Linked DNA regions of Homo sapiens: regions 2, 3, 4, 5, 6 and 7 are each linked to region 1. The links are contacts of gene promoters, found by promoter capture Hi-C in human tissues and cell types (Jung and others, 2019). All regions are on one chromosome and are shown on one strand. The core of a region is centred on a gene start or on the middle of the fragment in contact, and the rest is flanking DNA. Distances in the headings are between cores, read along the strand shown.

What was found. Contacts are between HindIII fragments. The study calls those that stand out against the background at their distance.
Region 2: a fragment that was not itself captured here is called in contact with the fragment with the promoter of MYCBPAP in region 1 in 1 of the 25 tissues and cell types used here (dorsolateral prefrontal cortex).
Region 3: a fragment that was not itself captured here is called in contact with the fragment with the promoter of MYCBPAP in region 1 in 1 of the 25 tissues and cell types used here (H1 embryonic stem cells).
Region 4: a contact is called between a fragment that was not itself captured here and the fragment with the promoter of MYCBPAP in region 1, in 2 of the 25 tissues and cell types used here (mesendoderm cells and thymus).
Region 5: a contact is called between a fragment that was not itself captured here and the fragment with the promoter of MYCBPAP in region 1, in 1 of the 25 tissues and cell types used here (spleen).
Region 6: a fragment that was not itself captured here is called in contact with the fragment with the promoter of MYCBPAP in region 1 in 1 of the 25 tissues and cell types used here (aorta).
Region 7: a fragment that was not itself captured here is called in contact with the fragment with the promoter of MYCBPAP in region 1 in 3 of the 25 tissues and cell types used here (adrenal gland, bladder and heart right ventricle).

The regions. Positions count from the first base shown.
Region 1 is chr17:50,505,311-50,509,688 of GRCh38, forward strand. It overlaps MYCBPAP (MYCBP associated protein), which reads left to right and starts at 3,129. Exons shown (of 19, transcript NM_032133.6): 1 at 3,129-3,440. The coding sequence starts at 3,365. RefSeq lists a silencer at 2,835-3,124 and enhancers at 3,145-3,204, 3,225-3,354. The HindIII fragment of the contact is 18,604 bases long and covers 1-4,378 here.
Region 2 is chr17:50,964,439-50,968,816 of GRCh38, forward strand. SPAG9 (sperm associated antigen 9) reads right to left here. Exons shown (of 30, transcript NM_001130528.3): 30 at 1-1,949. The coding sequence ends at 1,834. Among named protein-coding and RNA genes, the nearest start is that of TOB1-AS1, 100 kb to the left of the region's middle. The HindIII fragment of the contact is 5,827 bases long and covers 1-4,378 here.
Region 3 is chr17:50,140,598-50,144,975 of GRCh38, forward strand. PPP1R9B (protein phosphatase 1 regulatory subunit 9B) reads right to left here. Exons shown (of 10, transcript NM_032595.5): 3 at 3,001-3,121; 4 at 672-776. Among named protein-coding and RNA genes, the nearest start is that of PPP1R9B, 7.9 kb to the right of the region's middle. The HindIII fragment of the contact is 8,211 bases long and covers 1-4,378 here.
Region 4 is chr17:50,850,865-50,855,242 of GRCh38, forward strand. No RefSeq gene overlaps it. Among named protein-coding and RNA genes, the nearest start is that of TOB1, 13 kb to the right of the region's middle. The HindIII fragment of the contact is 4,759 bases long and covers 1-4,378 here.
Region 5 is chr17:50,179,851-50,184,228 of GRCh38, forward strand. COL1A1 (collagen type I alpha 1 chain) reads right to left here. Exons shown (of 51, transcript NM_000088.4): 51 at 4,251-4,378. Among named protein-coding and RNA genes, the nearest start is that of SGCA, 16 kb to the left of the region's middle. RefSeq lists enhancers at 1,318-1,612, 2,072-2,967. The HindIII fragment of the contact is 5,023 bases long and covers 1-4,378 here.
Region 6 is chr17:50,817,256-50,821,633 of GRCh38, forward strand. No RefSeq gene overlaps it. Among named protein-coding and RNA genes, the nearest start is that of WFIKKN2, 16 kb to the right of the region's middle. RefSeq lists enhancers at 352-431, 2,035-2,094. The HindIII fragment of the contact is 3,816 bases long and covers 7-3,822 here.
Region 7 is chr17:50,791,342-50,795,719 of GRCh38, forward strand. No RefSeq gene overlaps it. Among named protein-coding and RNA genes, the nearest start is that of MIR8059, 25 kb to the left of the region's middle. The HindIII fragment of the contact is 8,529 bases long and covers 1-4,378 here.

The sequences.
Region 1 (4,378 bases), core at 1,879-4,378:
TATTAAAATGGTGACTTTTATGTTATGTGTATTTTACAACAGTTTTAAAAAAAGTCAAATGCACGTTTCTCAGGAGAAGATTCCTAGGTTTGATTGGCTTCTCAAAAGGTGAAGCAGCTCTGATCTGGTCTGGACCCCTTCATGTCATGATGCAGATGGTGATACTGGGACACAGACAGGGGGTGAGACCTGTCCAAGGTCACTCAGGGGCTGGTGGCAGAGCCCAGCCAGGTTGCATGCCTGCCTGACCACATACTCCCCTACCTGCTTCTTCCCTTGTCCTTTGGTCACCAAACCCTCCCGTCACAATCCCCAAGCCTCTGTCCTGCTCCCAAACATGCCACCCACAAGCTGTGTAACTTCCCAAAGTTAAAAGGCCTTCTTCCTGAAACTGGGTGCACGGATTAGAGTTTCATGAGCGTTTGTCTTTTGCTCTAGAGTGGACTCTGAGCTCCTAGAGGGCAAGAGGAAATGTTTCTTATTTTCCTCCATATCTTACAGAGCTTCTGGGACAGCCACGGAGGTGAGCCATTCCTGTCTCCCTTCAAGAAAGAACTTGCCATTCACCCTCAAGGAGGGCAGTTAGCTGACAACTTCTAACAAACATTCTTTGCCCAGAGGACATGCTGGGTTGGCCAAGACTTTGTTAGATCTGCAGCACAGTCTGAGGCTCTCCCAGCCCTTTCCTGCTTCCTCTCCCTCACCGGCCTTGCCACTACCCCCTCTCTCCGCAATAAACCTCTTGCGGTCCTATGTTCATCTCAGTGCTTGCTTCCTGGAGGACCCACATGGCACAGCACCTAGCCTGCTGGATCATAAGTGCTCAGTCGCGAAGTAAACGGAACTGGGGATTCTCTAGAGGGTAGAGGGAAGCCAGAGCCTGGGCCTCGGAGAGCAGGAGAGGGGCTGTCCGTGGAGGATGCCTCAGTCATAAGGAGAGCAAGGTCTAGAGCAGTGTGAAGAAGGGGCCATGGCCCTGGAGCAGGACCCAGCAACGGGCAACACACAGGGAACTCAGGGATTCACCAGCACTGCTGGCATCGTCTCTAGCTCCTCCGCTGTCTGGGGCAGCTCTTGCAAACTCAGAAATGTCCCAGGAGACAGGGTTCAAAGAGCCCTGGCCTTGGACTTTAGAAAACCAGGTTCAATTTGTGCTTCCCGCTAGTCAGGTGACATTACACCCTTCTCTCTGGAGCTCAGTTTCTCCGTTTGTAAAATGGGCTTATAATGTGTCCCCTCCCTTCAACCCCAGCATGATTTTGAGAATTGACTGAGAAGATACTACAGTTTATGGAGGGCACCCTGTTTCGTAGTTTAAATGCACACTCAGGCCAGGTGAGGTGGCTCATGCTTGTAATCCCAACACTTTGAGAGGCCAAGGCGGGAGGATCGCTTAAGCCCACGAGTTCAAGACCAGCCTGAACAACATAGCAAGACCCTGTCTCTACAAAAAATTTAATAATTAGCTGGGTGCAGTGGCACATGCCTGTAGTCCCAGCTACTCGGAAGGCTAAGGCAGCAGGATCATTTAAGCTCAGGAGTTTGAAGCTGCAGTGAGCTATGATTGTGCCACTGCACTCCAACCTGGGCAACAGAGTGAGATACTCGCTAAGAAAAAGAAATACATACATATTCATTTAACCCTGGCAGTGGCCTTGTGAGAGCAGCATTATGACCTCCATTTTATGTATGTATATATGTATGTATGGATGTATGAGATGGGGATCTCACTTTGTTGCCCAGGCTGGAGTACAGTGGTGCAATCAGAGCTCACTGCAGCCTGGACCTCCTGGGCTCAAGCAATCTTCCTGCCTTAGCCTCCAGAGTAGCTAAGACTACAGGTGTGGGCCACCAAAGCCAGCTAATTAAAAAAAAATTTTTTTAGGCTAGGCACGGTGGCTCACGCCTGTAATCCTAGCACTTTGGGAGGCCGAGGCGGGCAGATCACGAGGTCAGGAGTTCGAGACCAGCCTGACCAACTGGTGAAACCCCATCTCTACTAAAAATACAAAACTTAGCCAGGCATGGTGGCACTCGTCTGTAATCCCAGCTACTCAGGAGGCTGAGGCAGGAGAATCGCTTGAACCTGGGAGGCAGAGGTTGCAGTGAGCCGAGATGGCACCACTACACTCCAGCTTGGGCACAGAGCAAGACTCCGTCTCAAAAAAAAAAAAAAAAAAATTTTTTTTTTTTTTTAGAATGGAGTCTCCCTACGTTGCTCAGGTCAATTTTGAACTCCTGGCCTCAACCAATCCTCCTGCCTCAGCCTTCTAAAGCACTAGGATTGTAGGCCTGAACCACTGTGCCCAGCAGAGAAAACCGGCTCTCTAGGTCAAGGCATTGGCTCAAGAACACACAGCTAACAAGCCGACATAGCTGGGATTAGAACCCAATTGTCTGGCTCTAGAACCCCTTCACTATTTGAGGTACAATTTACTGCCTGACTACTAGTGCTAAACTTTGGGTTGGGGGCAGGGCCTGAGGCAGCTCCTGCTCTCATACATTCTGAGAGCCAGTTTGACAATAGGCAACTACACAAAAAACCGAAATAATCCCAGAATGCCTCAGGGCTCCAGGGGAAGGCGAAAAAAGCGGGTGCGTTTATAAACTTAAAATAATCAGAGGCAGCATCTCCAAGGACTGTGAGAATGCCCCAAGTCAGGGCAAAAGTTTTGGCTGGTTTGGGAAGTGATGAAAGGCCAAAGTGGCTGCAGCGAGCGTGGACCCGGGAGGTCTCCAGGCGCGTTGGTGCGAGTTGGGGACGGCAGGCAGGGACACCTAAAACCTACGGTACGCCACGAAGGGGTTTCAGCACGTCCTGAAAGGCCCGATCCCCCCCCAGAACCGCTGTGAGGGGGGCAGAGGGAGGTCCCTCGACAGGATGTGGCCTTAGTCGAGGAAGGCGGGAAGCAGGGGCTGGCACCCCCGACGCCCCACCCGCCCCCCGTGGCCTAGCAGCAGGGCGGGGCGAGGCGGGTCATGCACCCCTACCAGCCAGCCACTCCCACCCAGCCCTCGGCTCCCGCAACTCGCGGGGGTCCTCGCCCGGGTCCCCCGCCCCGCCCCGCCCGGCTGGTGACGTCACGGCGCTCGTCGGCGCCGCCTGTGGCGTCACAGGCCGGGCCCGCAGGGCTTTCTAGGGGTCCGTCGCTCTTGAAGCCGCCGGCGGCGGGCGCGTGCGCGGCCCGATGAAGAAGGAGGTTTCCAAGCCGTCTCCGCCCAAGTTGATCGGTGGATGCGCGCCCCCGCGCGGGGCACCGGTTGCTGTGGACGCAGTGGCGGCCGTTGGCTGGCGGGTGCGGCGCAGCCTCGGTGTCTCTGGGCCGGCGGTGCAGGGCAACGTTTCATGGTGCCGGGCGGCACCATGAAGTCTCTAAAGAAGGATTCCCGCCTCAGAATAACTCCGACCAGATTATTAGAGGCCTCAGAGAATGTCAAAGGTTGGCGCTGGCTGCCTTGGGCGCTCGGGAGAACCCGAGAGGGGAAGCGGTCCCCGGAAAGAGTTCAGGACACGGGGCCTGGAGGATGGGGATGGCACCAGGGATGGAGGAAAGATCACGGGGAAGTGGGGTACTGGGCATAGGACCCTTAGGGATGGGGGGCAAGGCAGGAAGAGCCTACAGCGCACTGGGCCTTGGGGATGGGGACATAGGAAGTGGGAGACTGACAGAGGGGCCTCAGGGACCACTGGCTGGGGAGATGGCCTTGCGCTACCTCTAACCACATCTTAGGGTGGCATGCAGGAGGCAGGATCCCCGGACTGGATGAAGTGCAGAAGAGCCAGGAAAGAGTTTAAGGGTAGAAGGGCCAGGAATTGGGGTCCTTGGGAAGAGGAAAGAATGAAGTGTTGAAACCAGCCACCTTGATGGGATTATTTGGTAGAGGAGGGTCGGGGAGCGGGGCAGGCGTCACTTAGGATTCCTGCTGGAAAAACCCAGAAGAAAGGCCTTGCTTGGCTAGTTCTCTTTTTGACTGCCTTTTCCTACCACGTGCACTTTCCAGCTGGATGACACTTATCCAGCTCCTTTAGCCTGGAAAGAATCGCTAGATATGACTGCTTCCTACCCTCTACAGCTTTCTTCTGGTTGCACCTGGGAGAGCCACAGGGCGTCTGATAGCGGACTGACTTCCATGGACATGTTCTCACTTGCAACCCACCCCCTTTTGATCTTTTTTGGCTGTTTCCATTTATTTATTTTTAAATTTAATTTTTAGCTTTTTTTTTCTGTGTGTGTGTGTGTGTGTGTGTGTGTGTGTGTGTGTGTTTGTAAACAGGGCTCTCGCTGTGTTGCCCCAGCTAGTGTCAAATTCTTGGCCTCAAGCGATCCTCCTGCCTCGGCCTCACAGACTGCTAGGATTCCAGGCATGGACCACTGCG
Region 2 (4,378 bases), core at 1,215-3,714, 460 kb after region 1:
TTAGCTGGGCAGGGTGGCACACACCTGTAATCCCAGCTACTTGGGAGGCTGAGGCAGGAGAACTACTTGAACCTGAGAGGTGGAGGTTGCAGTGAGCTGAGATCGCACCACTGCATTCCAGCCTGGGCAACAGAGCCAGACTCCGTCTCAAAAAAAAAAAAAAAAATCATATTTAGCTTTGCCTAGAGTAATAGATAAAAAAGGGTAAATCACACATTTTCAAGAAGCTTGAGAGGGAAAAAATTGCAGCATCGTGGTTTTAAAAAACTTATTAAGCAAGAAAATCAGTGAAATCCAGACTTTAATCTATTTTTTGCTTGTTTGTCTGTTTTGAGACAGGGTCTTGCTCCGTCACCCAGGCTGGAGTGCAGTGGTGCTATCAAGGCTCACTGCAACCTCCACCTCCTGGGCCCAGGTCATCCTCCCACCTCAGCCTCCCAAGTAGCTGGGACTACAGGCATGTGCCACCACACCCGGTTAATTTATTTTGTTTTTTTTTTTTGGTAGAGACAGGGTTTCGCCATGTTGCCCAGGCTGGTCTTGAACTCCTGGGCTCAAGCAATCCATCTGCCTCAGCCTCCTAAAGTGTTGGGATTACAGGCGTGAGCCACCATGCCCAACCTATTTTTTTTTTTTAATGGGCATTGTGAATGAAAATATGTAATGTCAACCTTTACTTTATGGTATCTTAGGTTTGTCTTCTTCCCCTTCATAGTTTTCCCCTTTGAGGATAACCCTTCAAGCTCAAAAGGGCACAAAAGCTAAAACGTTATTCACGTACAAAATACCAAGTATATAGCTGTTCTGCAGTTTGATACAGAACAAAAGAAAATAACTTTTCTAATTAAATCCCTCATTCTGTACTTAGGCCAGACTCCATCCCCACTACAGTTTTACTTGTATTAACAGGTTAAGAGCAATCTAGGAACATTTGGCAAACAAGTACATTTTTTACATGGAAAAAACTCAATCAACATCACCATTCTCTGGTACAAGAAATACAAAACACATTTCCTTTAAAAAATCCTCCCAGTGCTGAAGTATCTTCTAAGCTTCCCAGAGTATGTCCTAAGCTTTATAAATAATAAATCTTTCAGACATGTCAGTATGAAAATGAGACTGGTCTCAAAAAAAACCCATCAGAATATTCAGAGAAGTAGGCCTCATAAACTTTAGAGCTCTAATAAGTCAGAAACAGGAAACGTTTATTTAAATAGTGTAGTCTTAATTTCTTTAATATAAAACCCCCCCAAATCTGATGAAAACAAAGTTTTATATACCATATAAACAAGATTTGTCAGATTTGAAAGTGAAAGTTAAAGTAATTTACAGTTAGCTTTTAACCCTCTCGGGACATTTAGATACATCCTGATAATCCATCTTGTATTAGTGTGTGTCAATTTTACAATACACTGGGGAAAACTCAGCTATTGTATTTAACGGTACAGTTTCATTTATCAAGTGTTTCCCATTAATTCCATTATTAGTGACAGCTAACAAGTGACCCCATCAAATGAAGTGAATGACATTAGACTGTGGCAGAGTAAACCACATCTGGATTGCTTTCTATAATTCACCAGTTTGCAGGAAGTAAACATTCTTTGATTTGTTCATAATATACTGAAGTTACCTATAACACTGGTGCAGTAACACAGCTAGTTCCTCTGTATTGTTATGGTAGAACGGATTTTGTAATATAAAGTTAACAGGAAAAAATGCTCACACATTATGTGGTGAAACTTATCTCACAAAAGAGCATTAAATAAAAGGATAGAGGGAAAATAAACCATGCAGAAGAGACGGCTTCCCCATCTCCACCTGTTTCCCATGGGCTCACTCATTGCCATACATCACTTGCCACACTATCAAGTGACTCCTTTCTGCTTTGGTGACAGAAGGTTCAAGTGGAAGATCCTCTCCAAGAAGTTCTGATTCTCCACCTTCATCACCTAGTGAATGATAAGAAGACTCAAGTTAGGCTGAACACATAAAATATAGAATGATGTGAGTCAGATGTAATGCTCGTGGTTAGTCCATGAACAAGATGCCCAAAACTTGTCTGACTTTCACTGGAGAGTAAATAGTAGAAGAAATACTAAGAGTCAGAATCCTCACCCATATTCACCCAAGCCACTGCTTGACTTCAGAAAAGGTTAATTCATTTTTCAGACTGTATTTATAAAATCCAGTTCACTATACTACGTTAAAAAGCCACCCCAACATGTCTGCATACCGATGGTCCAGACATGGGAAGCTAAGAAGGCAATTCTGTGTTCATCCAAAATGAAGAGTCTACTGTCACTTATTTTAAACTAAGAACTGAGAATAGTGTTATAAAATGCGTGAGCACAGGTACAGAGCAAACTAACTAAACCCAAATAACTCACAATTATCAATGACAGGTGTAATGTTCTCCAATTGAAGATAATTGACACAAGCATATGGAAATTAAAATAATTAGCCTGCAGCACTGCAGATGGCAGATTCACCAGCTACTGGGTTTTTCTTCCAATGATTTTCAAGTTTAGGATAGGTTACAAATTAACAGTGTATAATGGAAAAGGAGAAACAAAGAGGTTGGGGTAGCAGCCAAGATACAGGTTCTTCTGCATCACGGCTAAGTGAATGTGATCCATGGTGTCCTGATCAGACACTGGCTTCCAAGGCCCAGTCTGGGGTACACCACACTCCTCTCCATAAGACCCAGTGCAGGGCATACCATAATTCTCGATACAAGCTTGCATCAATTGTATCTGTTGTCACAGAGCAGGGTTATTTTGGCACAACCCAGTGAAAAGTTGTCTAGTGGGATGGATTCTTCAGCAGAATCCTAAAAACATACACACCACAGGACCTAAAGATATATTCCACTGATCTAACAGAATTTTGTAATGTGCCCCATGTGAATTTCAGCTGGACAAAAGAAAATATTGATACTGTTGACTAGAAACAACAGAAGAGAAAAAACCCTAAATATCTGCATTTTTCTCTGCAGGCCAAACTTTCCCTTACCCAGCCCTGTAATGGCCTTTTCACAGCAATATCAAACTAGAGAGAGGAGAACACTCAGTTCAAACTCCCATCTCTGAACTGAAACATACCCAGGTGGTTAGAAGGTAAAAAAATTAAGTTTGGCTCTTAAATTTTAAAAAATTTCAATGAAAAAAATTAACTGGCTGAGACAAAAGGCTGTCGCCATTTCTCTTCTGAGTTGTTCTGAAGATTTTACTTGTAAGAAAATTATCCTGTCTGCTAGGGTCTCTACAGCCTAAGTTTTAAGTTTAAATCATTAAAAATATGGGACTTTAGAATCAATTTCTCACTGTTAAAATATTACAGGAAATGAAAAAGGAAATGGACCCCCAAAAAAGATCAAATTTGATTTTTTACAACAGTATATTCACTATTAAAATTAGCCTATGCTAAAGACAAGTCTGTTTTTCAGGCTGGAAATAACTAGAGATACTGCCAAACCTGGTTAAGCAATTTTTGTTCTATTTTCAGGATCCACAATGGAAGGAATTTTTAGTGGAAATGGAAAAACCACATAGAGATTTTATTAACAAACTCCTCAGTACGGTTCCAACTGACATACTGCACTCCAACACAAAGTTACAAAAATCACCCCAGCCAAGTGGAGTCCCTAACAACTCCTCTCATAAAAGGGAATTCAACAATAGTCAATTATTCAAAACACTTTGAAATGACTCCATTCCTGCTGACATCCCTGGAATCAATTTCTAAAGTTCACACTAACAGCCTTCCCCTCTTAAAAGTGTCAACAAACTTTTTGCATCAGATATTGGTGACACTAATCACATTTGTCACATTGTCATTTAAATGACCCTAATTTTTTTTTATTCCTTTACAGAATTCATATCTAAAGTATTTGTTACTGATCTACAACACTATTATATTCTCTCAAACTGCCTACTGCCTTATGTCTGGGAACTTTTTGAAGCACTGAGATTTTAAGCGAGTCCAAGGGATCAGTTTATTTATAGCAAATAAGCTGGGTGCGGTGCCTCATGCCTGTAATCCCAGCACTTTGGGAGGCTGAGGCAGGTGGACTGTTTGAGGCCAGGAGTTCGAGACCAGCCTGGCCAACATGGTGAAACCCCGTCTCTACTAAAAATACAAAAATTAACCAGGCGTGGTGGCACATGCCTGAAATCCCAGCTACTCGGGAGGCTGAGGCATGAGAATTGCTTGAAACCGGGAGGTGGAGGTTGCAGTGAGCCAAGATTGTGCCACTGCACTCCAGCCTGGGTGACAGAGTGTGAGACTCTGTCTCAAAAAAGAAAAATTATAGCAAATAAATAAACATATTTGTACAGTGTCTTACAATTTACAAAGCACTACTCTTTCACGAGCATCA
Region 3 (4,378 bases), core at 1,151-3,650, 370 kb before region 1:
TCTTGGGTATGCTCCAAGCCCCTGAGCTTCAGGAAGGGGCGGGATGATGGCAACTGGAGATTAGGATGGAGAGGAAATAGTGGAACTTCCAGGCACCAGCCCCTCCTCCCGGTGGCCACCCACATCCTGTTTCTCTCCACCACCCTTTCCTGGGGGTAGTACCCCTCTTGCAGGGGGGCAGGGAGTGATCCCTGAATGTTAAGCCAAAGGTAGAGTGGACACAGGGAGCTTCTGATCCAGTCCCCTTGGTTACAGGCCTGGGGCGGAGTCTTCCCAGGATGACATAGGGCTGGTCGGGGTGGGGGGCATGAGGTCCCAATGAGGGGACCCCAATATGGTTAGCATTCACCCTGGACGTCCTGGTTCTTCAGTCAGTGAGTCAGGGACAGGTAGGGGGAAGGAGAAGAAGCCCTAGAGGACAGTTTGGAGGGCTGGTGGACAGTGGGCCAGGAAGGCTGAGTACTGGTGGCCAGCTGTTGCCAGGGAGCTGGGATGAGAAGGCAGGTGTGAGGCGAGGGACTCCAGGCACAGCAACTCCTGCAGCCAAGGAGTCAGCAGAACCTCTGTGAGCTGGGCCACCAGAACCTTAACTGGCTGTTAAGGCAGGTGAACGGAGTGCCTGGACGAGGACCTCCTGCCCGCTCCCACGCCCCACCCCTCTGGGCTCTCACCGCACTCGGCCCTTGGTGTTCCGGAGCACAGACGCCGCGAAGCTCTGGGTCACTCCCACCAGACTTGTTCCATCCACCTCCACCAGGAGATCATTCACCTGGATCCTAGCGGAGTGACATTGGTTAAGGGGTCACAGGGGAACCGAGGAGCGAGGGTAGAGGTAGCCTCCTCCCATCAGAAACTCCAGGCTCCCCAGCCTGAGTACATAGTGAGAACTCATCTCTACAAACAATAAAAAGAAAAATTAGCTGGGCATGGTGGCACGTGCCTGTAGTCCCAGTTACTTGGGAGGATGAAGTGGGAGGATCACTTGAGCCAGGGAGGTCAAGGCTGCAGTGAGCTGTGTTTGCGCCACTGCACTCCAGCCTGGGCAACAGAGTAAGACCCTGCCTCAAAAAAAAAAAAAAACAAAAAAAAACAAGAAAAGAAAACAACAACAAAAAACCTCACAGATACTTTGTCCTCACAGGGACCTGGTACTTTGTCTACCTGCGTAACATTCACAAGGCCAGAGGATTAAGTGTCAGCCAGGCCCACCTGTGTGGGCAGTGAGAGCCAGGCAAGCAAAGCAGACACAGGCGTCCAGGACCAGGAGACGCGGCAGGCACACTTCCTGTGACAATCACACTCTTGTCCCCTCCTTCATCATACTTGACTGAGCGGTGTGACATTCTCAGAGTTCATCTCTGCCATGCACACTGGCCAGGAGCCCCACAGCACACAAGTGACATGCCACCCTCTTACGTGTACATTTCTGCACAGAACTGAGTGCACAGATGTCCTCCCAAGTCCCCAAGACCGAATGGCACTCTCTCGAGTTCACACACTGTCCCACACACACCTGATACAGGTGCACCTGCCGACACACTCCAGTTGTGTCCCCTGAAGCCCGTGTTCTCCATACAAGGGGAGGTTCAGTCTGGCCTGCTGAGGGAGATGGAGGGTGGGGGGCCTCTCAGACACCTCCCTCCTCCACTCCACCTCCCTGGGAGCTCCAGGCCTTCTCTCAGGACTCCCACACGGAAATGGAGGAAATGGCCTATTGTCAACAGCTCACCCCAACACATGCCACTCCCAGGTGGGCATGAGTGAGTGGCCACGGCCACCATGCACACTCACTCCTTAGACAACCCACAGGCAACAATGGGAAAGGCTCTGGAAGTTCACATTGGGAGGGGAAGGGGTAAATGAAAGGGTATCCTGTTCCCGGCCCCTCTCCATGCCACCTGGGCCACAACAGGTAGAAGCCCCTTGACAGGGCAGCCCCATCTCTAGAAACAAGATCCCAAAGTCACCCAGATCCCAAAGGACACCTGCTCACCTCTGTCACATGGAGGGGGTCTGGGTTTGGAGGTACCACCACAAGAGATCCCCAATGTCACCTCTAACTTACAGCCACCCTGGGGGATGCCCTACAGCCCTTCCTACTGCCACTCCCCACACCCCTGGAATACACAGCTAACACAGGGGTCCCTGGCTGGCACACAGCTCCAGGATGCCCTCCCTGAACCTTCTGTCCCACAGAACTCACCCCTTGCAACCACAGATGCTCAATACAGGCACACACACTCACATGCGCAAAGACAGCCTGTCTCCAGAGCCACTGCCATCAATGGGTCTAGTCACAGCCTCCTGGCCCCTGCTCTCTATGCCCCAGCCACACCTGCCTGCTCATGGCGCCACTGCCTGGAACCTCTGCACTCACTCCCTCAGCACAGCTAACTCCTGCTCCAGCCTTAGCTCTCAGCTCCAGCACTGCTTCCTCCAGGAAGCCTTCCCTAATGCCCAGAGAGATTAAACCCTCCTGTTGTATGCCTTCACAGCAGTCTGCATTTCCCTCCATTTCACTACCTTTTGTGTGTCCATTTATTCAATGTCTACCTCACACCACACTGCACACTTCTCAAGTGCGCCAGGCCCTCACCATTGACTTCCCAGGGCCCAGCACCGGCCCAACACTGTCAGAGACTCAATGTCCAGCGAAAAAAAAGCTCAAATATACTCCATGCCTGTCTTCTCCCTACCAGGGCCCAAACTGTACTCCAGACCGGGATGCACAACACACGCCTATAGCCCCCATGGTCACCAGCCCCTCCTGGAGAACACACGCTCCTTCAGGGCATAGGGGCTGACAGTGCTCACTGTTGTATTTCTGGGGCCTGGAACAGCACCTGGCATGGCAGTGCTCCCCGAACATCTCAGCTGCACACACAGCACGGAAATCTCCCAGGGAAGGCCCGCCCCACCCCCTGCTCAGTGGCCCACCCCACCAAGGATGGCCGGTCGGAGAGGGAAAAAGGGTCAGGCGAGACTGGGGAGGATTGGTACCTGCCATCCCGATGGGCCGCACCACCCTCCGTCACGGTCTTGACGAAGATACCCAGCTTCTCCAGGCCCATGTCTGCCCCGGCGCCCATGCCGATGATGCTGATGCCCAGGCCCTCGGAGTCTGTGGAACAGAGAGTGGTGAGATGGCAGGGCTTGTAGGGGACAGACGAGAGACTCTCCACCCCGAATTCCAGGGCACAGCCCCCCCATCAGGAAGCAGTCCCCATTAGGGGATGTCCCACAACTGAAGAAGGGATATAGTTCTGTCCACCGTCTTTGCCAAGTCTACTAGGATGGCTCCTGAGCCGCTCCCTGCCCTTTGTCCCTTCCAAAGAACCAATGGGCAGAAGAGCGTGCCAAGGGTGGCACAGGCAGGTAAGACTGTTGCATATGCAGACCAGGGCGTGTGGCCAGGATGGGGGTAGCCAGGATGGGGGTAGCCAGGATGGGACTCAGCCCTAAGCCTTTGGTCTTCTCCCTCTCAGCCAGTCTCATCTGTACTCATAGCTTCAAGGACCAAAGACCTCCAGATTTTCTCTCCCCTGAGGTCCATTCCCCTATCCACACCTGCCCCTGCCTGACTCATGGCCCTCTGATGTCCCAACTAATGACCTTCCCCCACAAACACTCCCTCATGGGGGATGGTACCACCACCTGCCACCTGCCAGACCTGGGAGGCACCTGGATTCCTCCCTCCCACTCACAGCCTCCACCTGAGCCAAATGACCCCCAGATGCTATGGATTCTACCCCTGGAGATCTTTCCAGTCCACCCACACCCGCTCTGCCATCTTCCTGTCCACGCCACAGTGGCCTTTCTCCATCCACTTGTGACCCCCTCCCTACATCACAGCCTGGTGTGGTCTTTCTAGACCTTTCCTGTGCTTCGAAATGGCTCCCAATCCATCTTAGCAACAAGACCACGTGGTCTGCAAGGCCTCATTTGCATGCTCTTCTTGCCCTCCCTATGCAAATGCAGCCAAGCCCCTTTCCTGACTACTCCCCTAATTCCTCCTCACCAGAGTGCAACTCAAGCTTCACTTCCCTGGAGAATGCCCCCAAGCACAGTCTGGTTAGGTCACCTGTTAAACGCTTTTACAGTGGCCCCTCCTTACCTTCCCCAGCCCCTATTCCAGCGCCTAAGGGTGAGATTAGATGTGACTGTGCCTTCCATGTCTGCCTCCCCCATCCATCTCCCCAGGAGCCCACCACTGTGTCCCCAACACAGAGCCCAGGACCTAGCACACAGTACCCTACAGAGACCTGTTAACTGAATGTGCAAATGTGGTTCCATGACCGGGGTGGTGGGGGTGTGGCTTGGCCTGGGTTGGAGGCCCTGTTTGCTCTGGGTGCTGACAAGGGAGGAGCGGGGAAGGTCA
Region 4 (4,378 bases), core at 859-3,358, 340 kb after region 1:
TGGTTTCGTCTCATTTTTGTGTCCTCCCTTCTCCCTGCTAATATACCAGGAAGTTTTACTTCCTAGGATTCTCATGAAAAGGCACGTTTATAGCCAGCTGACCTCCCCTAAATAGGCTGAGCACATGCCCTTGAGGCTAAGCCGTGCGGGGAGAGGTGGAGGATTTGAGCCCTCTCTCACCACAGAGTAAAGAGAGTGCAGGTTATTCTATGTAGGGAAGAGGATTATGCTGAATGCTTTATTTATCTTACATGCTCATCACACCAACCCTAACAAGTAGAATTTGGAACCCTTTTACAGTTAGGAAATCTGAGGTGGAATCGTTTTAACAGTGCACTGCTATTTAAGGTTGAGTTTGAGATTTGATTCAAAGTCTGACCCCAGGCCAGGCGTGGTGGCTCACACCTGTAATCCCAGCATTTTGGGAGGCCGAGGCAGCGGATCACCTGAGGTCTGAAGTTTGAGACCAGCCTGGCCAATATGGTGAAACCCCGTCTCTACTAAAAATACAAAAAAATTAGCCGGGCTTGGGGCTGGGCACCTGTAATCCCAGCTACTCAGGAGGCTGAGGTAGGAGAATCCCTTCAACTCAGGAAGCAGAGGTTGCAGTGAGCCGATATTGCGCCACTGCACTCCGGCCTGGGTGATAGAGCAAGACTCTGTCTCAGAAAAAAAAAAAAAAGGAAAAAAAAAAGTCTGACCCCAAAGCCCACGTTCTTTCTCATAGAGGATCACGAGGAGTAATGTTATTTGGAGGCTGAATGAAGCCCCCTACACCACTCTAGAGCATTCTTACATCTGCAGGGGAAATTGTGGGGCCTAAACATGTGTCCCCGCTGGTCAAGTGAGTGTGAGACAAGGATCAGACGCTGGTGTCTTCTGTGCCAAAGCAGGATCCACACTCTGTACAGAATAGTGATGCTCTCTGAACAGTCCCAGGTCACATGAAGGAGTTTGGCCAGCTTGTGGTGGTATTTTCAGTGGATGACAGAGTGCTCAGCCACCAAGAGAACTTAGGGAAGCCTGGGGAAGGGCATTGCCCGGGGAAGTGACCCAGGCGAAAAGTTATTTGGGAATGTTAATTTCTGGCTGAAATTTATACAAAGCTTTCCCTTCAAAGCCTCATTCTTTGATTTATGTTCAAACCGGAAGATATTACAAGCACCCAAAAAGCCAAACTGGAAAAGGAAACTGCAGAGCTCCACAGACTTGTTGCCTTGGCCAGGGGTAGGGTGTGGCGATGGGAGTGGCAACTGGGAGTGACCTGGGGGTGTCTGAGTTTGTGCAATGAACACGCACTTTCCACCAACACCAACTTCTGGAGGGGTAGTACCTGCTGTGAGCCCTGACATCACAAAACCAAAAGAGGCTTTGTCACTAAAGGTAGGAAAACAAATGAGATGACCCCTAGAGGGAGCTTCTAGCCTGAGGAAGTTTCTAGATTAAGCATGAAACTGAAACTGTCTTAAAAGGAAGGAATTCGACATCCCTCTGACACAGCCTGACGCCCCTCTCAGTCCCACCTTTTCTTTCCTTGGACTTCTTACTGGTCCTCCCCATCTCACTCCTGGGTTTGATGAATAAAGAAGTTTTAAACTATTTCTCTTTCATAATGTTTCTGTACAAAGCTTGAAACAGTGAAAAAATAAGTTAAAATGTTCAAATTCAAAGGCAGGTTCTCCCAGGAGAGATGGGCTGGCAGCAGAGCTTCTATTTCTGATTTCCTCTGCCTTTTTCCCCAAGGGTTAGCAGCACACATTCTTCCTACTGTGGCTACATCTGATGAAGAACACACACACACACACACACACACACACACACACACACACACCAGGACCAAGGTTTTCCTCTCAACTGCCTGTTCCTCCACTGGAGCTGGGAATTTGAGGGAGCCCAGGCTTCCCCGGGTGCTTCCAGTGGACATTGTACCCATTCTTCATAGCTGGATATCTCCCCCCAGATCTAGCATCCCTAAGATAGGCACAGTCTCACCCTTTTTTGTTCATACCCCTACATTTTCCTGTGTATTATGATTATTTGGGCGTGTGTGTTATCGTTTGCTAGAATGTAAGCTCCTTTAGAGGTTCCGAAGGATTGTATATATCACTGCCAGTTCCTAACGCAGGAGATGCTTAATAAATGTGTTGAGTGGATGAATACAGGAGCTGTTTTTAATCATATCTCACCTTGTTTGAGAAAGAATTTAGGGACAAGAATGGAATCTGAGCCCAGGGCAGCCACTTGAGTCAACATCACCCTTTTGCTATCACAAGTACTAGTAAAGCTCAGGACCCAAGACTTCAGTATGTGAAGTGCCTATAGTTGCTTCTCAACAAATCTAATCATCCAGAGAGCAGTCGCAATGTAAGTAAGTAAAGCTAGCACGTAGCCCTCAAACTCATATCTTACTCCATTGTGTTTTTGCAACCGATTTCCCTTTCCTAATTGTGCCTGGCAAAGGCTGATAGCAAAATAAGTTTGGGATTGCTGAGCAAACAATCACAAGTGAGGTTTGCAGGAGAGGGGGACTGGGCACAAAGTGCAGCTTAGATGACTTCTAAATAATCAGGTGGGGCTCTTTTTATAAAATCGACCGGTTGAGGTCAACCAAGGGAGCAGGATAGTGTAATGGTTAAGGATCATGGACTTTGGAAACAGAATCCCACAGTTCAAATCCTAGCTCCGCTGGCTGTGACTGTTGCAAGCTCTCTGCCTCCACTTATATATCTGTAAATGGGAGAAACAGTACAACCTTCAGAGGGTTGTTATGAAGTTGAACTGAATTTAAATGGGGCAGTATCTAGCACATAGTAAATTCATATAAGGGTTGCCATTATTACTACTGAGCTTTTGGGGTTGGTCATTCCCTCTGGATTCCATAAGACTTTGTGATAGTATAAAAATCATCCTTCAAATAGGCAGTGCTTTACGTAGGAGCAGTTCCCCATCCTCCTTGAAAATCTGGGAAAAAAACACGCGCACAATCTTTGGGAAATGGCGGTGTCAGAACTTCTGCAAAGCCTCCTTCCGAGGAAACTGATCTCCAGGGCAAGTTGTCAGGCAGTGTATGCATAAGCTCTCTCCTTTACTGTCCTTTCCACCTTTCCCAGGCCCTGGAAGCAAAGGCAGATAGAAGACATAACACCCTGGTCCCTTGCCGGCTGCCAGACCCTTCTCCTTTGGCAGATGCTCCTGGGGAGATAAGCTCTCACCTCCATCTCTCTATTCCTTTTACACAGAACCCAAAAAGTTCTTTGAACTTTAGTGGTTCAGAAAATAAACAAGAATCTTCTTTCTAAGTTACCAAAAAAAAGTTTCCTTCCTTTCTTCCAGCCTTTTTCAAGATTCACAAAGAAGAATTTCCCCAGGTAAAAATCTTTTATAGCTGTGTGAAAACTGTTTGTTCTCAAAGTCTTTAGTTAAAGAGCCTCTGGTGACACCTTAGTTTCTAGAAAGGTTGACTGCAAAGATTGCAGCTATCTTAAACCTTGTATTAAAATGGTTTAAGAGATTCCTATCATGTTTTCTGGAAATAAAAAGAAATTAGAATAAAGTAAGTCACCAGGGCTCCACAAAACTTTAGAATGGCAGGTAGTTTGCAAAACTAGGAGAGTTCTTTTTGGGAAAAGAGATTTGAGGGCAGTAGGCAGATCTGGATAATCAGAGTGAAGAAAGAATAGGCATTGTCATTACAAAACAAAACAAAATTCAACCTTCATCCTTACTAAAAATGCATCGATGGGGCCGAGCGCAGTGGCTCACGCCTGTAATCCCAGCATTTTGGGAGGCCAAGGCGGGCAGATCACGAGGTCAGGAGTTCGAGACCAGCTTAACCAATATGGTGAAACCCCGTCTCTACTAAAAATACAAAAATTAGCAGGGCGTGGTGGCACGTGCCTGTAATCTCAGCTACTCAGGAGTATGAGGCAGGAGAATTGCTGGAACCCGGGAGGCGGAAGTTGCAGTGAACCGAGATTGCGCCACTGCACTCCAGCCTGGGTGACAGAGTGAGACTCCGTTCCCCCTCCAAAAAAAAAAAAAAAGGAAAAAGAAATGCATTGATGGCTAGTGGAGGGGTGGCAAGGGAAAGCCATCTGAAAGGAATACCTGCATTTAGTGCAAAACAGAAAAAGATGTTCCTATGCCTGGAAACTACTGAACCTGTGTCACAAGGTGTCTGGATACTGTACTAAAGTGTACAATATTTGCAGGGTAGGATGATTCCATTTCTTTCTTTTTCTTTTTTTTTTTTTGAGATGGAGTCTTCCTCTGTCGCTCAGGCTGGAGTGCAGTGGTGCGATCTCGGCTCACTGCGACCCGCCTCCTGGATTCCAGTGATTCTCCTGCCTCATCCTCCCCAGTACCTGAGATTACAGGC
Region 5 (4,378 bases), core at 647-3,146, 330 kb before region 1:
TGCTTTCTACAGAACACCTGCTCTCCTAGGCCTCCGTGAACTCAGCAGCGAAGCCCTGGCCTGCGGGCAGAGTTTGCCCCACAGCAGTGAATTCATCCAGAACTTGCACGTGTATGTGGCCTCCCTCTCTAAAATGTTTTAGTCCCCATCATGGTTCTCTGTCCCTTCTCATTCAGTACCCCCTTCCCAGTTCCTCCCACTGTCTTTTGCAGAGAAAATCCCACTTTCTCCAGCATTAGCATGTGCCAAACTCACCTCCCTCCTGGCCTTGCCTTGCACATCCTCTGCAAAGGGTTGAAATCTCTGCATGGGGAGGGCCTGCCACCCTCCTGGACAAGACCCCTCCTGCTTCCAGGATCTTGCCTCCCTGACTGTGGACATGCCCTCGGCCTGACTTGATACCCTCTGGAGCGCACACAGGGGAAGGGGACAGGGAGACTCAGCCTTCCCAGCACCAGGGCTCCCACTGGCTGGGGGACTTCAGGAGAGTGGTCTCCTCCCACACCGAGCCCCCACTAATTTTTCCCACACTCCTCTCTGCTCCCCCGCCCCATTCATCCATATCACACAGACAGACCCTCCTATGCCCTCTGTCATGCCCATGTACACATATGTCCCAAATGCCACAGTCCATGTGTTCTCACAGTTCACACAGGGTTGCTTTCACTGCCATACGTGTGGGGAAGCTGCCCTCATCATGCACAGATGCCCGCCCACCCCAACCCACACACATACATGTGTATAGGCCCCTGTGAACACAGATACATTTATTTGTGCACAGGTAGGTGGGCACAGACAGTGAGACACATTCTCATCACCAGGCACCCCCAGGAGACAGAGACCCCTTGGTGGCACTCACCTTGCTCCCTCAGACGCCATCGCAGGCCTCCTCGTGTGGACGCTGGGCTTGACGGCAGCCTCGCATTCTTTCCCACGCGGCCCACGCTCACGCCTGCTCCACACACAGTCTCCTCACCCCAGCCGGCAAGCTTTCTTGCAACCCCTCTCCTCCTCCACCCACCCAGCTCTGTCATTGGAGAAAGTCTGGGAAGCTGAGAGTTAAGGTGCTGGGGAAAAAAAAAAAAAAGGAGGGAAAATCTACTGTATTCCGGTGATAGAAAATCCTGCCAGGAGATGGGGCTTAGGTCCCAAAAGGGACCCAGGATTCTGAGATTGCAGCAGAAATTAAAAATCCAAATGAAGCCTCCTCCCTTTCTAGAATTTTCCATCTGGGCTTGACTGAAAAATCAGCCAAAAATCAGGAGCCTGGTCCTTCTCACAGAGAAGACAAAGGTGAGTCTGACAGAGCGGCAGGCTCTGTGACACCCTGCAGGAGATAGTGAGGGTCTCGGGGAGCGGGTCTGGGTGGCTGTATTTAGGGCGGCTGTGATGTCAGCGGAAAGGAGGGTTTGAGTTGGGAATGTGGCACAATGGCCCCTTTGTCCCCCTCCCCTCCTGTCCTGTACACACTGAAACCACACACCGGCCCCACACCACGTGATGCAGGCTCAGAGCTGCCCATGGGGCACTGCCACACAAGGCTGCCCCCGCTGCAGCCCTGACCCACAGTGCGTGTGTCCACATACATGCCCACGCGTGTGCACACACACCCACGTACCCACATGTAGATTTGTACAGAGGTGACAAGAGGCATATTCACTCCTTTGCCTACAGCTCTGCTGCCCCGTATGGTAACCCTTATCCCACATATAGTTAGTAAAACTAATTGCAATTCAGTAAAAGTGGAAACTGCATTCCTCAGTCACACTAACTGCATCTCACATGCTCAACAGCTGCATGTGGTTAGCGGCTACCGCACTGGGCGGTGCAGCTCTAGGACATGTCTGTTGCTGCAGAAAGCCCTGCCCTGCGCCCTCCGTTGCTGTCTGCTCCCCCATGGGCCTTCCACTTGCTCTTCCTCTCACACTCGCTCACTCCTGTGCACCAAGCACACACAGCGCCATGCTCTCACCTAATGGGTGGCCTCTCTAGCTCAGTCTCTCTCTCTTTAGTCTCCCCAGTACCTAAGCACAGACTCTGCCTAGCCCTGCATTGCAACACCTGGCCTCTAGTCTGGAGAGAATAACAGGATGGAAACATGACCACATCCACAATCCTAGGATGAAGGACCGAGGGGAGCTATGTGGATCTGGAGAGCTTTGGAAACTCAGAGGGGCTGAGCTCAGGCTGGGTTGGGCAAGGGAATGGGAAGAGAATGAGACATTTGAGCATGGCCCGGACAGTAGGGTGTTGAGCATGCAGAGAGAAAGGACATCTAGAAGGCCTGGAAGTGGGGAAATGCAGTGCATTTGTGAGAACTGTTGGCCACCCTTTTTGGTTGGTGTGACAGATGTGGGCAGGGGAGGGGACAGTGAGCCTGGGCAGGTGGGTAGTGGCCAGGTAGAGCCTTGGATGCCAGGCTCAGGATGTCCCTGGGTCCCCCACGAGGGCAGATGGGGATGTGGCCTGGACAGCCAGGGTCCTAAAGTCCCAGAGGTCCAAGTGGACAGGGTTTCCTGGGCAGCATGGCAGGCATCACCAAGCAATCAACACATTGATCAAGAGATGGAGCCTGGTGCTGTGGCTCATGTCCGCAATCCCAGCACTTTGAGAGGCTGAGGCAGGTGGATCACTTGAGGCCAGGAGTTCGAGACCAGGCTGGCTAACATGGTAAAACCCTGACTCTACTAAAAATATAAAAATTAGCTGGGCGTGGTAGTGCATGGCTGTCATCCCAGTTACTTGGGAGGCTGAGGCATGAGAATTGCTTGAACCTGGGAGGCGGAGGTTGCAGTGAGCTGAGACTGCGCCACCGCACTCCAGCCTGGGTGACAGAGTGAGACTCTGTCTCAAAAAAAAGAGAGAAAGAGAGATGGATAGGCATCACACAACTTTGGGTAATTTGCATATGAATAAGCCTTCATTTATATGCCATCATTCTTATCCTCTCTACACTGATTCCCTTTCTACACTGTCCTAAGTGTGGTAGAAGTGCTAATGATGAATTATTGAAGGCCATAATGAACGGCCATGAATACTTAATGACATCACGATATTAGTATTGCTGATGGATGGTATCTACAGACTTGTCCATCTCTCTGGAGACCTTAGGGAGGAGTGCGGGCTTTTTGTTCTTTTTGGGTTTAGACCTGAGATGAGGTGAGAGAGGTGACCAGCTGTCGTCTCGCTGTCTCCCTGGCTCCGGGTGCCTGGTTCTCTCTGGACTTCTGACGCCCTGGATTCTCTGTCCCCCGCTGACCACACTCGCTGTCCCCCTTACCTGAGATGGGGGAGCCGAACAGTCACCTTCCCTCCGGGCCTCGCCTTCTCAGGGCCTCTGGGAAGGAGCAGGCAGAAGGTGAAGGGAAAGAGAAGGGACGGAGAAGAGGGGGGAAGAGGAAGCAAGAATTTAAGAAAAAAAAGAAAGAAAGAAAGAAAAAGCTTAAAAAGGAGTAGGCGGGAGGCGGGGGCACGATGGTTCCCCAGACCACCCCAGCCCAGGGGGGTTGTGTTCTGGGGATTCAGGAGGTCGAGGCACCCAGTCCGTGGTGAGCAGGGCCAGGTCTCCTTCCTTCCCAAGAGCACGGTGCGAGTGCCTTCCCCACAGCTCTCCCAGGTGTCTGTCTCCCTCACTCCCCCAGGGCCAGGACAGCGAGCAGGGAGCACGCCTTCCTCCTGGTCCCTCCCAGACCCTCGCCAGGCTCAGCAGACCCCTCTCCTGTTGCGTTGCTCCTTCGGCAGGAGGTCAGCGTGGGTGAGAAGGGAGCAGAGGCCAGATGACCCTTCATGTCAGTTCAAGGAGAGGCCCCCAGGTCCTCCTCACGGGTTCCACTCCCCTCACCCTCCCAGTATCCATGAGCATCCCACCGCCACCAAGTGCAGGGCATCCAGGGGGTGGAGAGTGGATGGGCTTGAAGGGGAGTGGGTATGAGGTTTGGACAACCCCAGATGTGAAGAGTGTGTGTGTGTGTTGTGCACGTGGATTGCCTGTATGGTATTGCAGGGGAGAAGAGGATTTGGAAAAGGTGCAAGGAAATTGCAAGAATAGAAAATGAAAGAGGAAGTAGAAAGGTTTGCGGTATAAGAAGGGTGAGAGAAAGGGGAGTGGGGTTATGGAGGGATCTAGAAGAGAATAGTGGGGAGGGAAAGGGCAGGAATGGAAGGCAAGCCCATCACCCCAAAGCCCCTTCCCCATGTCTACCCCTCCCCCAACTCCAAAGAAGGAAATTAGGAGGCCACTGCGGATTATGTTTGGGTCATTTCCACATGCTTTATTCCAGCAATCAAAATAATTAAAAACATCTCAAATTATTATACACATACAAAATAGGTACAGAGTCTTTTGCTTCCTCCCACCCCTAGGGGGAAAAACTGCTTT
Region 6 (4,378 bases), core at 665-3,164, 310 kb after region 1:
TCCAGCGTCCGAGCTTTCTGCCCTACAGCCCCACATTCTTTATGCCTCAGGCAGCTTCTTCAAACCTCCCCGCGGAGACAGGAGGTCCCCTCCTCGGTCAGGGGAGGGTGAGGGCTCCGTGCCCCACGGTGCCGCGGTCAGCAACACGGGTTGAGCCCACGCGGGGCTCCCCCCAGCAGGGGGCGCTGAGACAAGTCGGGTTCCAGGGGCCTTTCTCCTACCAGGGCTGCTTGTGAATTTCTCCTACTTGGGCTGCTTGTGAATTTCCACCTTGCTGCGGTGTCTTCTTCCTCGGTTTACTTCACACATATTTGAGTGAGGATTACTTGCCCTTGGGGAGTCTGGACGGCTCCCCAATTTTGGGATGCAGCTAGTGCTGTACTGGCCGCCTCATAACCACCCAGGGAGCGTGTGAAAAGGCAAATTCCTGGACATGATCCCAGTGGGACCAGGACAGAGTCCATGAGGCCTCCAGGTGATTCTCATGCCCAGGCTTGGGACTCCACACGGCCCTCCTTCAAGTTCACGATCTGCAGACATCAGGCTTCTGCCTTCTACGCTGCACCGTCTTGCTTGCGGGCTCATCTCTCCTTTTAATCAATCCATTCAGGTGAACCAACCACAGAGAAATGGCTTATTCTATGTTTACACCTGAAAAATATTCATTCATTCATTAGTTCAATAGAACTTTATAGAACGCCCTATGCCAGGCACCAGATATACCTTGGTGAATAAGACACGGTTCCTGCCTTGAGGTCTGGCTGGGGAGGCGTGTCAATACATTCCAATGTGATGAATGCTAGGAAAAGCAAAACGCTACGATCAGCTCAGGGTGGGATCACAGAAGTGGATGCCTGGCTTACCTGGCTCGAATTTGGGGAATCACCAGGAAGAGGTGATTTCTCAGTGGAGACTAGCAGGATGAGCAGGAAAATTCCCCGGGGACAGGAAGTCAGAAAGCAGAGAGCAGTGACAATTCTGGTGGGGGGCGGAGGGAAGCAGAGAACTGAACCAAAACATCATAATTTGGGCATAGGCATTTTAGCATTCTAGATTTTCTTTAAAATTCATGATTCAAGAGATAAAAATATAAGTTTGTTTCTAGATATATGACTAAGGTCTCAAAGAGAACTACTTCCCTAATTAGTCCACTATGGAAAGATGTATTCAGATTATTTACGGATAGGGGAAGGCCCTGCATAACTTCTGTGTCAGTCTCCGGAATGGCTCATATGCAAATGGAGAAGGAATCACTGGATCTGGGTGGATGCCTTCTGGGGAACAGAGTTGTCTTTCGGTGTTCCAGGAGCTGCAGATACAACTTTGAAGGCAGTGGCTCGAAACCCTGGCTGCAAGTAAAAATCACCTGGGAGTTTTTTTTTAATTTTTTATTTTTATTTTTATTATTTTTTTTGAGACGGAGTCTTGTTCTGTCGCCCAGGCTGGAGTACAGTGGCATGATCTCGGCTCACTGTAACCTCTGCCTCTTGGGTTCAAGCGATTCTCCTGCCTCAGCCTCCCGAGTAGCTGGGATTACAGTCATGTGCCACCACACCTGGCTAATTTTTGTTATTTTTAGTGGAGATGGCATTTCACCATGTTGGCCAGGCTGGTCTCGAACTCCTGACCTCAAGTGATCCACCCACCTTGGCCTCCCAAAGTGCTGGGATTACAGGCATGAGTCACTACACGCCTGGCCACCTAGGAGCTTCTTAAATCTACCACACATGGCAACCACTCTGGCAACTGATATATTAACTGTTTGGGGCTAGGGTGCAATGTCTGGGTGGAAGGGGAAGCTTCTGTAAAGGAGATGAAGAAGAAGCTACCAGGGAAGTGGGTAGAAAGCCAGGAGAAAAAAGGTCACAACACAGATGTAGGGGGAGAGTGGTCAGGAAGGAGGATGTGGTCAACAGGTCACAAGCTGCAGAAAGGCAAGAAAACGAGGACTGGTTGTGTCATTTAGGGCCATGGTAGTCACTAGCAGCAGGTGACTTTAGCAGCAGGTGACTTTAGCAGCAGGCTTGTCAGCAAAGTAACGTGTGGGAGGCTGGATCACAGAGTTCAGGAGAATGAGTTCAGGGACTTGGGAGGTGAGAAAATGGAGCCAGGATGCGGACTGACTTGGAAGGTAGAAAGAGGCAGGGCTGTTCATGGAGGGGGAATACGGGGTGGAAGGAATGATGTAATGATCTGTTGAGGATAAGAGAGACATGAATGTGTATAAAGGTGGCAGGTATTTGGGAGACAGAAGGCGTAATTGATGGTATAAAGTTCCTAAGGAGGTGGAAAGAAAGGGAAGTGTTGGGATCCAACACATTGTTGGCAGCATTGACCTTAAATAGGAGGGACACCTCCTCAGTTGTAACAGGGTGGAAGGTGGAGAGGGTGTGGTGGGGGCAGGGTGGCTCATTTTACTTGGTGGGGGTCAAGAACATCCATCACTCAGAATTTACTCATGAATGCGGTGACTGGATTTTCAGAGGCACGTGGCCTTGATAGAGGCCTCTCTCTACGTCCTCTCTTTCTTTCACGTCTCCCTCGTGGCAGCCAGACCTGGAGGCACTGTCCCAGTGATGAGTTAGCTGGGGGAGTGTAGGGGCTGGCCACCCTTTCTTTCTGGCCCATCTTCTCCACCTGTGGCAGGACCCTTGGGGAAGGAAGCTGGAAGGTTGAAGCCTGGCCTAAGCCTAAGCCCCAGGGTTCATCAGGGTCTACTATACTAAGGGTCTCTGCATTGGGGGCAGGGCTCAGGCACCAAGATGACTCCCTCCCTGAGAAACCCCAGAGGGAAGGGGATACTCGGGCATTGAGCCCTCACTCCAGCACCCTAACACCTTCTACCCTCAGTGGTGGGGTCTTTGCCTTTCTGATCCTCATGTACCTGAGGCCACAGTGGGCAGGTTGTACCTGCCCTGTGCCCTGCAGGCACAAAGGGGCTGGCTCCCTTGCATGGGCCCCCTCTTTATCCTCCAATTCCCTCCTGTTTTCCTTCTGCTGACTCAGAGTTAGGAACAGAGCCTCTCCAAACTTTGGGAAGCACCTCTCCTGCCATCTACCATGGTGTCTGACTGCTGGACTTAGGGAGAGAAGCGCCTTCCCCCCGGCTCCTCACTGGCAGAAAGTCCTCCTGGTGGCTCCCGATGAATGAGCCTGGCCCATTTTCTGCCCATCCTCTGTACCCAGCAGTGCCCCCAATCATTCCACCATGAAATGTGCAGTAGCTTTCTATCCCTCAACTATTTCATGCTCACTTGGCCCAAATGCGGACAGTCATGGGTTCTTCTGCTTTTGATATGGAAACGCTGGGAAGGGAAGAGCGTGGTCCCTTTAAATGATACGGAACAGCGCAAGGGAAATGTTGGGTAGAGGAAGGTTGTGCTCCCTGGCGAGGGCTCCACCCTCGTGGACCTAGGTTAGGACAGGCACTCCTGCTTTTGCACCCAAATGTTGCATTTCCCAAGACCACCCTGTCCTGCCACACCCCCATCCTGTGCCTATAAAAACCCGAGACCCTAGCAGGGCAGAGACAGAAGCGGCTGGACATCTAGAGGAGTATATTGGCGGTGGGACACACAGGCGGCTGGATGTCAAGAGGAACGCACTGGCACCGGCATCGGCATGCCAGCAGGCCACTGACCAGCAGAAGGACGCAGAGTTTGGCTGGGGCAGTTGGAGGAGAGCCTGGGACACCAAGCGGCCCAACTCCAGAGGAAAACCATCTCCCTTCTGGCTCCCCCATCTGCTGAGAGCTACTTCCACTCAATAAAACCTTGCACTCATTCTCCAAGCCCACGTGTGATCTGATTCTTCTGGTACACCAAGGCAAGAAACCCTGGGATACAGAAAACCCTCTGTCCTAGTGACAAAGTAGTGGGTCTAATTGAGCTGACTAACCCAAGCTGCCTACAGATGGCAAAACTGAAAGAGCACCCTGTAACACACGCTCACTGGAGCTTCAGCTGTAAACATTCACCCCTTGACACTGCCGTGGGGTCAGAGCCCCACAGCCTGCCCATCTGTATGTTCCCCTAGAAGTTTGAGCAGCAGGGCACTGAAGAAGCGAGCCATACCCCCATCGCACACCATCTGAGGGGGACAAAGGAACCTTTCCCGTGAGACTTTTTTTTTTTTTTTTTTTGAGACGGAGTCTCACTCTGTCGCCCAGGCTGGAGTGCAGTGGCGCGATCTCGGCTCACTGCAACTCCTGCCTCCCAAGTTCAAGCGATTCTCCTGCCTCAGCCTCCTGAGTAGCTGGGACTACAGGTGCTCGCCACCACACCTGGCTAATTTTTGTATATTAGTAGAGACAGGGTTTCACCATATTGCCAGGCTGGTCTCAAACTCCTGACCTCATGATCCGCCCACCTTGGCCTCC
Region 7 (4,378 bases), core at 921-3,420, 290 kb after region 1:
AAATCTACCCTTAGCTCTCCAATCTTCTCCTCTAGGCATTGGCCGACTTTTTCTGTAAAGGACCAGTTGGTAACGGTTTTAGACTTCATGAGCCATGCCATCTCTATTGCACCTAATCAACTCTGCCGTTGTTGTGTGAAGACAGCCATAAGCAATATGTAAATGTGTCTGTGTTTCAATGAAACTTTATCTACTAAAGCAGGGCCACAGCTACTCTTCTCTCTCTCTTATTTGCTACCTGAATTCTGATATTCAGATCGCCTTTAGAAGCCACATGTTGAAAGTGGCACAGCCTCCCGTTGTCTGAGACACTGTAAGAAACCCAGACAAGAAAACCAGATGGGGTGCAAGGAATCGGCGATTTCCGTTTCTTACAGCAGAAATGGAGGTCCCCCAATTCCTTGCCCCCATCCTCCTTTTATGGAGTAAGAAATAAACCTGTATTGTGTTTAGCAACTGAAATTTGGGGGTGGGGTATCTCTTCCATAAGTTAGTGTTACTTTAACTAAGATAGAATTAGTACTAGGAGCGGGATATTGCCATAATGAAAATCGAAAATGTGTGGCATTGGTTTTGTAGTTGGGCAAGATAGTGAGAAAACCTTTGTCAGGGTTTGGAAAGATGGAGACCCATGCTAGGCAACGGCAAAACATTTGGTAAAATAGTTGCCTGAGATAAACAGGTCAGCTGTCCTCTGACCCTGTAGCTCTAAGGGAAGAAGTCATAAAGTACAGGCAGCACTTAACAAGGTCTCAGAAGAATAAGATGGGACCAGTGAGCACTGGCTGATTTGCAAGCAAAACTAAGATGAAATAGGGACTCCCGGAATTTGGGGTATTGGTTAGGAACATTGACGGCTTCTAGATGCCAAACAGAAGGAAATCATAGCTTAAAGGCCTTTGAGCAGCAAAGGCCCATGAAGCCTCAACCTCAGGCAAGGTCAGAGTCAGGGAGTGTCCTTCCCCAGGCCTGAGAACCTCAAGATTGCCATCAGCACATCGAGAGAGAATGGCCGGAGGGCGGACAGCAGAAGAATCAGGCTGGAGAACTGTGTCTAACTGTGAATTTCGCACGTGGTTGCTGGCATCCAGAAATGACTGGAAGCAAGTAGAGGAGCCTTTTCAGATTTTCAGGGAACTGTATGTCAAATAAGCCATAAGCCTGAACTTCAAAAAATAAACAAATAAAAAAGAGAGAAAGTGTTTGAACTTTTGGGCCTTAAAACCACCTTGAGGCTGGATGTGGTGGCTGACGCCTATAATCCCAGCACTTTGAGAGGCTGAGGCATGTGGATCACCTGAGGTCAGGAGTTCGAGACCAGCCTTACCAACATGGTAAAACCCCATCTCTACTAAATACACACACACACACACACACACACACACAGTTAACTGAGCATGGTGGCGCATGCCTGTAATCCCAGCTAGTTGGGAGGCTGAGGCAGGAGAATCGCTTGAACCCGGGAGGTGGAAGTTGTGGTGAGCTGAGATTGCGCCATTGCACTCCAGGCTGGGCGACAGAGCGAAACTTCGTCTCAAAACAAAACAAAACAAAACAAAACCACTTTGAGATCTTAAAACTTTTACCCGAAGGAGCTGCAGGCTACAAAAGATGAGCAGCAACCCGGGAGGGTCTACCCCTCAACGGTCGCTGCGAATGCGGCCTTGGAGCAACATGGCAAGACGACAGTGTGGAGGGCAGGGCTGGGAGCCATAGAGAAGAGGACAGGGCAATTCCTTCAAGGGTGGGGGCGCTCCCAGCACCCACCTGGCCAAATGGCATCATCGCTGTCATCAGAGCCTGCTTTGCATCTTCTGTTCTTCCCTTCTCTGAAGAGGATGTTGTCCTGTGCTTGCCCTATCTGCACCCCACCACTGGATCCGGAAGTGTGTTGTGTGTCTATACTGGGGTGGAGAAAGGAAGGACACGATAACTTGTTCTTTTAGGCATCGGTTTCCAGATCACAGGGAGTCACAGAGGACCTGGAGGAGAGAATCCTGTGTGTGCTGGAGATCCCGAACTGTGGCGGAGGCCCCAGGAGGCAGTGATGGTGTGGACTCAGCTGCCTCTCCGGGAAGCAGTGAGTGTGTTCCATGTGTAAGAGGAAGAGTGAAATGGCTACTTAGTGGCTATTGGGCAACCCATGGCAGAGACTGGCTAGAGGCTTACGAACGCTGTCTTAGTCCATTTTGCATTGCTGTAAAGGAAACTGAGGCTGGTAATTTATAAAGAAAGAGGGGTGTTTGGCTCATGGTTCTTCAGGCAGTACAGGAAGCATGATACCAGCACCTGCATCTGGGGAAGGCCCCAGGAAGCTTCTACTCAGGGCCACAGGACAAGGGGGAGCAGGCACGCCACATGGCCAGAACGATGCCAGGCTCCTTTAAATAACCAGGCCGGGTGCAGTGGCTCACACCTGTAATCCCAGCACTGTGGCCAAGGTAGGAGGATTGCTTCAGGCCAGAAGTTTGAGACCAGTCTGGGCAACATAGCAAGACGCCATCTCTAAAAAAAAAATCAGGCTGGGCGCCGTGGCTCACACCTGTAATCCCAGCACTTTGGAGGGCCGAGGTGGGCAGATCACTTGAGGCCAGGAGTTCAAGGCCAGCCTGGCCAACATGGTAAAACCTTGTCTCTACTAAAAATACAAAAATTAGCTGGGCATGGTGGCAGGCACCTGTAGTGCCAGATACTCAGGAGGGTGAGGCATGAAAATCACTTGAACCCAGGAGGCAGAAGTTGTAGTGAGCCAAAACTGTGCCACTGCACTCCAGCCTAGGTGACAGAGTGAGACTCTGTCTCAAAAAAAAAAAAAAAAAAAAAAAAAAAATTAGCCAGGTGTGGCGGTGTGGGCCTGCTCAGGAGGCTGAGGTGAGAGAATCACTTGAGCCTGGGAGGTGGAAGTTTCAGTGAGCCGTGATTGCACCACTGCACTCCAGCGTGGATGACAGAGTGAGACCCTGTCTCAAAAAAAAAAAACAGACAAAAACAAAGCACCCACATGAACTAATAGATTGAGAGCTCACTCATTACCATGGGGAGGGCACCAAGCCATTCCTGAGGGATCCACCCCTATGATGCAAACACCTCCCACCAGGCCCACTCCTAACACTGGGGCTCATATTTCAACATGAGATTTGGAGGGGCCAAACATCTAAGCTATATCGAACGCCAGCCCCTCTACTGCCAGATGAACTGCTAGATCACATTCCCGACTTTCATTGCGTTAGATGTGGCCATGGGCGGAGTTCGGGCCAGTGGAAGGTGGGTGGAAGTGAGGTACTTGTCTATCATAAAAACCCACACAACCTTCCAAACCATTCTCCTTGTTCTCTCCAGGCTGCTGACTGGATACAGATGTCCAAGGCCAATGAGGAAGCCATGTGTCAAAGATGGCAGGGGGCAGGGCATGGTGGCTTACACCAGTAATCCCAGCACTGTGGAAGGCTGAAGCAGCTGGATCACTTGAACCCAGGAGTTTGAGACCAGCCTGGGCAACATAGTGAGACACCATCTCTACAAAGAATTTAAAAACTGGGCCAGTCGTGATGGCTCACGCCTGTAATCCCAGCACTTTGGGAGGCTGAGGCAGGCAGATCACAAGGTCAGGAGTTCGAGACCAGCCTGGCCAACACAGTGAAACCCTGTCTCCACTAAAAAATACAAAAAATTAGCTGGGCGTGGTGGCAGGCGCCCATAATCCCAGCTACTCGGGAGGCTGAGGCAGGAGAATCGCTTGAACCCAGGAGGCGGAAGTTGCAGTGAGCCGAGATCGCACCATTGCCCTCCAGCCCGGGCAACAGTGTGATGAGACTCCATCTAAAAAATAAATAAATAAATAAATAAATAAATAAATAAATAAATAAATAAAATAAAAAACTAGCTGGGCACAGTGGCTCACATCTGTAGTTCCAGCTACTTGGGAGGCTGAGGTGGGAGGATTGCTTGAGTCCAGGGGGTTGAGGCTGCAGTGAGCAGTGATTGCACCACTGCACTCCAGTCTGGGTGGGTGACAGAGCAAGACTCTGTCTCAAAAAACAAACAAAAAAAAACTTTTGTGACTTTGTGGAACTCAGGCCAACTGGATTTCCTATGAAGAAATACACTTCTATTACATTAAGCCACTGAAACCTTGGTGTTTGCCTGTAATAGCAGCTGGTGTCACCTTAACTAGAGTTGAAGCCATGGGAGCAGAGCAACCAGAGCAGGGAGAGGCAGGAAGAGAACTGAGGCAGGACCCTGGGGACACCTCATTAAAGAGCGGCTGACACGGAGGTGGCACAAAGGAGACTGAGAAGGAAGCAAGAGGAGGATGAGGGCAGAGTGGCCTTCTGGAAGAAAAGGAATGTGGTGGCCAGGCATGATGGCTCACGTCTGT